Regions from separate parts of the Homo sapiens genome. Here region 1 is linked to region 2. The links are contacts of gene promoters, found by promoter capture Hi-C in blood cells and fetal thymus (Javierre and others, 2016). All regions are on one chromosome and are shown on one strand. Each heading gives the region's core, a stretch centred on a gene start or on the middle of the fragment in contact. The rest is flanking DNA. Distances are from core to core; before and after follow the strand shown.

Region 1 (3,210 bases), core at 647-3,146, 490 kb before region 2:
CTCAGCCTCCCAAGTAGCTGAGACTACAGGCATGTGCCACCACGCCTAGCTAACACATGCAGTTTTAATGAAAGAGAAGTAGTTGGATGTGCCTGGAGTTGAAGGGACCTGTGAAAGGGTGGCAGAACAAGAGGTTGGAAGGGTGGGATTTGCCATATGTCGAAGAGCCTTGTGGACCATGCTAGTTTATCCTGTTGGCAGTGGGAGGCTGTTGAACACTTGAAGCCAGTGTGTGCCATGACCAGATTAATTTAAAAAAGGAAATTGTGTAGGATGAGAAAGAAAGCTCCATAAAACAGGCACTTTCTTTGTATATTTTGTTTGCTGCAGTACCCATAGTGCCTTGCATCCAGTTTGTTGGATGAATGAATAGATGAATTGGAACAGAGTTGAGTCTGTGCACTAGTTTTGTGGCTATTGGAGTAATTGGAGGGAGGAAAGATGCAGGCCTGAATAGAAGAACTGAAATGACAGAGAAGTGACGGTTTCAGAGAGATTTTGGAAGCGGGATTGACAGGATGTGGTGGCCACTTGGAGGTGAGGTAGGAGGAGGAGTAGAGGAGGGTGACACTGAGGTTCATGAGGATGGGAATAAAGGAAGAGGCGGTCTGGGGAGGTTAGAGTGATATGTTTTGTATGAGGTGCCTGTGAGACATAGAGGTGTTCTGAGACAGATTGGAATATGTGCCTGAGGTCAAGAGAGTCCGGAGATGGGTGCTGAGATTTCAGATGTGGAAGTTGTTGACTGGTGGGTAGAGGGGTAGTTGGTGAAGCCTTGGAAGTAAATGCAATTGCCCAAGAAAAGGGTGATGCGAAGTGGAATGGGAGGACCTAATCTGACTCTTTTTACTTTCATCTCCCACTACTCTTCATCACCCCACACACCCTGATGACTCTCCCTAGACAGAATTAGTCACTGCCTCCTCTGTGGGCTGACATAACATTTTGTACCCACAACTGCTGCAGCACTTGAGTTCTGCTGAGCTTGTTTGCACATTCACCACCTTCCTTGGGCTCTGACCACTCAGTGTGCTGTTCATCTTTGTATTGCTGACACCTAACCCCCGCCTTGACCCAGTGTACTCAGTACTGACCAGATTCTTGAATCCTGTGCTATGATATCCATGTGGAAGTTAGGCATTGGTACCCACACAGGGAATGTATTAAACTGCTTTTTAAATCAAGAGTGATCATCTTCTCTAATCACAGGTAACATCCTCAAGCAAATCAGAATGAGAGCACCCATTCAGGAAACCTGAACAGGGAAGGTGAACCCCTGTCCTGACCAAAATTGGGTATGTTTAGAGGGCTTTTCTTGTATTCCTTCTGCTCTAAGTCCTATTATTCTGATCCTGAAGGTGCAGACAGCGGCATGTAAGGAAAATTGATCAGTGAAGTAGCAACTAATGGCATCTAGCATGACTTACGAAGCCATATAAGATGTGTGATTGAAAGTCAAAAGCTTGGTACCTAGAACCCCTGAAAATCTAAAAAATAAAACACCTAGCCTGTCTTTTAAGACTGTTCATCCCTACAGTGTATTATCATCTTCTTGTGATTATCTTACGATTACAAGCGTAAATTGAAGAAAAGATTGCTGTATGAAATCTCACTGTCAGTGAGTCATCTCAGCATTTTTACCTTATTTTCAAAGACCCAACCAGAAAAGAGGAAACTCTTTTGCACTTTTCAATCAAGAAACTTAAACATAAAGCAGTAGAGGGCTTCCCTAATAACATGTTTCCTCCAGCATTCAAAATTAGTGACTTCACATCACTAATATGTGTCTTACTTATTTTAAGTATAAATGATTGGGCAAAGAATCCTTGGGAAAAAATAGCCTATTTATTTCAAATACTGTATAGTGGATTCTCTGTGCCTGTGACTCACCTCCTTCCCTCCATCACTGTTCTCATACTCAGGATGCAAAGGTTCAGTCTCTGTCTTCAAAAGTGAGCTCCCAGTCTAGCTGGAGGGAGTGATGAGTGAACAAATAATTACAGCGTAATCCTTTGGTAAACCAGAGCAGGCAGTAATTAACTCTGCCTAGAGATGAAGTGGCGCTGGAGAGAGTTCAAGGAGGCTTCACAGAGAAGGTGGCAGTGGAAAGCTGAATCACCTGGTAGGCAAGGCGGGAGGAGGGGATGTCAGATCAGTGAGGGTCTTTTGTGCTGAGCAGATGAGTTTGGATCATAGGAAGGTGTGAGAAAATTTTTTGCCTTTTTTTTTTCGTAAACAGTTTTTCATGAAAAAAGGTCATCAAAGTAAAATGTATTAAGTTTTTTTTAAGCCTGCTGACTGATTTTTATTAACTTTGCCTAGAATGCCTTTAAGCTTGGAGCCTGTATGATCCTGGGTACTCAGTCTTGGGGTTGGAATATAACTTGAGGGCAAGCTCTCAGCCTAGATCATCATTTCAGTTATAGTACTTACCTCTGAGTAGCTACTCCATAAACATTTGTTGATTGAATGAGTGAGTGAATGAATGCAGCATCAAATACAGTATCTGAAATAAAGACTTCAATTTTTTTTGGAAGGACTTTTTAAAAAAGACATTAGACAGTTTTATATGTTCTGACTTTGTTGGATTTTGGTAAAAGATTTCAGAATTGGATTTTTTTTCTCATGTTTTTCATCTTGTTCAGGAGATGAAAATGCCTAGAGGTGATAAATATAGGCTCCTATGAAATACAGCTGTATTAGACGTAAAATAATGGGATCTGTTATTTTGGGTATTACATCATATGCTATCTTGCTGCTAGATTTTAGCATTACATAGCTATGGTAGGCATTGTCAGTTTATAGAAAATTTTGTGGGGAGAAAAAAACATGCCTTAGAAAAAGATGAGTGGTAACAACAGAACTCTTTGTCCCAGCTTGTGGAATGAGAATAGTGGAGCTAATGAAAATCAACATGTTGAAGTAATATACTCTTAAGAAAGTACCTTCCACCTTTTTTTAAGGTTGTGGCAATATAACAACAGAGAACACTGGTGGCCAGGGTCCTAAGGGAAGGTTTGATGCTGCTTGTAAGTTCTGATACCTTCCAAAATTCATAATACTGAGAGTATATTGAAAGACAGGCCGGGCGATGTGGCTAACCCCTGTCATCCCAGCACTTTGGGAGGCTGAGGCGGGCAGATCACCTGAGGTCAGGAGTTCAAGACCAGCCTGGCCAACATGGCGAAACCCTGTCTCTACTAAAAATAC
Region 2 (3,296 bases), core at 94-2,593:
TTGTAATCACTTAAAAAAAAAAAAAGACTAGTCCCCAAAACTCACTTTAGAGACATAAAAAGTTTACAAACAATCTCTTGGGAGCTCCCTCAATTCCCCACAACAGTCTCCCTGAACCTGGTTCCTTCCAAAATGTACTTCCAAATGTGATCTTCCCAAACCTTTGCCTATTGCCCCGCTAAAACCTTGTCTCATATCTGTTTCCTAAAATTCATTATCCCCCCAAATCTGCTGTTTCCTAAGTCTTGCAGAACTCAAAATCCCTGAAGTCTCATTAACCCTATCCACCAGTGAGAACAGCCCTGTAGCAAGCACCAGGAGTGGCCCATAGCCCAGGCCAAGCTTGACTAGAGCAGGGCTGACTGGACTGAGTAAAGAGAGTTGTTTCCTTAGACCTCCCCTCCCAGCCTCGCATCTGACACCCGTGATGGTGACCAGAAGGGACAGAGATATTTTTGCACAAAGGCTCTTCAAATCCGTTTTCTTTCTTCTTCTTCTTTTTTTTTTTTTTTTTTTTTTTTTTTTGAGACAGTCTCTCTCTGTCACCCAGGCTAGAGCGCAGTGGCGCGATCTCGGCTCACTGCAACCTCCGCCTCCCGAGTTCAAGCAATTCTCCTGCCTCTGCCTCCCGAGTAGCTGGGATTACAGGCACCGCGCCACCACATCCAGCTAATTTTTTGTATTTTAGTCGAGACGGGGTCTCGCCATGTTGGCCTGGCTGGTCTTGAACTCCTGAGCTCAGGCAATCCTCCCGCCTCAGCCTCTCAAAGTGCTGGGATTACAGGCATGAGCCATTGAGACCGGCCCCGTTTTCTTTATTTTAAAATTGATTGGCTCTTAAACAATTTGACTTTCAAGTGCAGTCTCTGAATTATTTAATATATTTCTTCCTCTTGAAATTCTCGAAATAGATTTTTTCTGTTATCTTCCCTCTCTAAATGCTCATCCATTTAAATACGCACCACCATGTAAGAGACTTACTACATTCATTAGCTGTTTCAAAATCCACTTCCTGTTCTCGGGCTCTACACCACCCACTGACCCTTTCCCTCATGGCTTGAGTGTAACAAAGCGTTTGAGTGGGCACCGTGCAGGTGTAGGTTTTCTGCCCGAGTACCGACGTGGCTTCCTTGGTCATCTAAACTCCCGCGCGGTGGGCGGGAGCAAGTAGGGGCACTGGGCGGCCCAGAGCCAGCCCACTGTTCCCGACACCGACCTTAACGGCCGACCCTGGCTCTGGCGCATCCCCAGCTGAACTGAAGCTCACCGAGCCTTCGTGCGCCATCGCCAACGCGGTCGCAGCAACGCTGGTGTTTCTGCTGCATCCGGGCCGCGTAAGCCACCTAACAGTCGCCTGGGCAACCACGGGCTCGGGGTCGCTCGCCCCGCCCACAGTTGCCCCGGCAACCGCGCCGCCCGCGGCACGTTCCGGCCGCTCACCCCGCCCAAGGGCCGTGCGTACGTGCGTCGTCTCTATGGTGGCGGCGGATTTGGAGGGACCCTACGAACCAGGAGTCAGGCGAGCCGATCTGGGGCTGCAGGTGTTACCTCTGATCTAGGCCGGGGGCTTCAGGGATCCGAGCCGAGGGAGAAAGCCTTGGGGGCTTCATCACACTTATTTGGCTCGCGGGCTTGGGGCCATCGGGTGGTCCTGTGTCATCCCCATTCCTCCTCTGCGATTCCCCCGTCGCCCCAAAACAGCCCTGGGACTCCCCTGTCTTGCTCCTCGAGACCCTCCCCCATCACCGTCCTCTGGGCACCCCATCCTATGACCCAGTCTCAGGCATCTTCCGAAATGCTCGATGATAGCCGCCCTCGGGCATCTCCGCTGCGTCTGTTTGTAGCGCGCCTGGTGATTCGGCTGCACCCCCACACAGGATGTTCCGCTGGGAGCGCTCCATTCCCCTGCGAGGCTCGGCCGCCGCCCTGTGCAACAACCTCAGTGTGCTGCAGCTGCCGGCTCGCAACCTCACGTATTTTGGCGTGGTTCATGGACCAAGCGCCCAGCTTCTCAGCGCTGCTCCTGAGGGTGTGCCCTTGGCCCAGCGCCAGCTCCACGCTAAGGAGGGTGCTGGAGTGAGTCCCCCACTTATCACTCAGGTGAGGCATGGAGCTGGGAGTGATGTTGCTGAACCCAGTCCTACCCCCAGCCTTTTCTCTCCAAACCTTCAGGAGCAGGCATGTCCTAACCTCAGAATCTCCCCAGGCATGTCCTAACCTCAGAATCTCCCCTCTCCTGCCGGGCGCGGTGGCTCACGCCTGTAATCCCAACACTTTGGGAGGCTGAGACGGGCACTTGAGGCCAGGAGTTCGAGACCAGCCTGGCCAACATGGTGAAACCTCTTCTCTACTAAGAATACAAAAAAAATTAACCGGGTGTGGTGGCGTGCACCTGTAATCCCAGCTACTTGGGTGGCTGAGGCAGGAGAATCGCTTGAACCCAGGAGGCTGAGGTTGCAGTGAGCCGAGATGGCGCCACTGCACTCCAGCCTGGGCCACAGAGCAAGACTCCGTCCCCCAAAAAAAAAAAAAAAACAAACAAACTCATCTTCCCTGCTTTGATTTTCTCCCTACACTGATGCACCTCCCTCCAGGTCCACTGGTGTGTCCTCCCCTTCCGAGTGCTGCTGGTACTCACCTCACATCGAGGAATACAGGTAAGAAGAGGACTCTCCTGCTTGCCCCACCAGAGCCTTCTCAGCTTCCCTGCCAGGCTTCCAGACTTTCCCACTTGCCTCTAAACACTTCCAGACTTTTCACATGCTTGGCCCACTCACTCTTTTTCTATTTCTTATCTTCAATCTTTCCATCTTTTCCAGTTTCCAAGTGCCACCTCCAGTATCTGCCCCTTTACTAGCTGTATGTCCTTACACTATTAACTTCTCACTCTCACTGTTGTCCTCTGAAAAAATTAGGATAAAAATAGTACCTACATCCCAGATTTGTTTTGAGGATTAAATGGGCTAAGGCTAACACGGATATGTGAAGTACTCAGCAGAGGTCAGTTGGGTTATGCCCCCTGGTTCTTGCCCCGGTCTTCCAGATGTACGAGTCCAATGGCTACACCATGGTCTACTGGCATGCACTGGACTCTGGAGATGCCTCCCCAGGTACCTGCAGGACCAAGTGGGGTGGGGGCAGGGAGTGTTTGCTAGGGCTGCAGGAGGGGATATTTCTGATCATTCTCCCCTTTCATATTCAGTACAGGCTGTGTTTGCCCGGGGAATTGCTGCCAGTGGCCACTTCATCTGTGTGGGTGAGGGAGCCAAGTGCAGGGCATGGAGGGGTGCTGGGGC

The links. The method cuts DNA at HindIII sites, captures the fragments that hold promoters and counts their contacts. A CHiCAGO score of 5 or more calls a contact.
Region 1: a fragment that was not itself captured here is called in contact with the fragment with the promoter of C2orf81 in region 2 in 1 of 17 cell types (total B cells); the score reaches 5.2 in total B cells.

What each region holds. Positions count from the first base shown.
Region 1 is chr2:73,931,389-73,934,598 of GRCh38, forward strand. All of the region lies in intron 1 of DGUOK (deoxyguanosine kinase), which reads left to right. Among named protein-coding and RNA genes, the nearest start is that of DGUOK, 6.1 kb to the left of the region's middle. The HindIII fragment of the contact is 872 bases long and covers 1,461-2,332 here.
Region 2 is chr2:74,420,276-74,423,571 of GRCh38, forward strand. It overlaps C2orf81 (chromosome 2 open reading frame 81), which reads right to left and starts at 1,344. Exons shown (of 3, transcript NM_001316764.3): 1 at 1,268-1,344. The coding sequence starts at 1,285. It overlaps WDR54 (WD repeat domain 54), which reads left to right and starts at 1,455. Exons shown (of 10, transcript NM_032118.4): 1 at 1,455-1,541; 2 at 1,878-2,100; 3 at 2,595-2,657; 4 at 3,044-3,110; 5 at 3,203-3,256. The coding sequence starts at 1,879. RefSeq lists a silencer at 1,275-1,554 and an enhancer at 1,955-2,134. The HindIII fragment of the contact is 12,224 bases long and covers 341-3,296 here.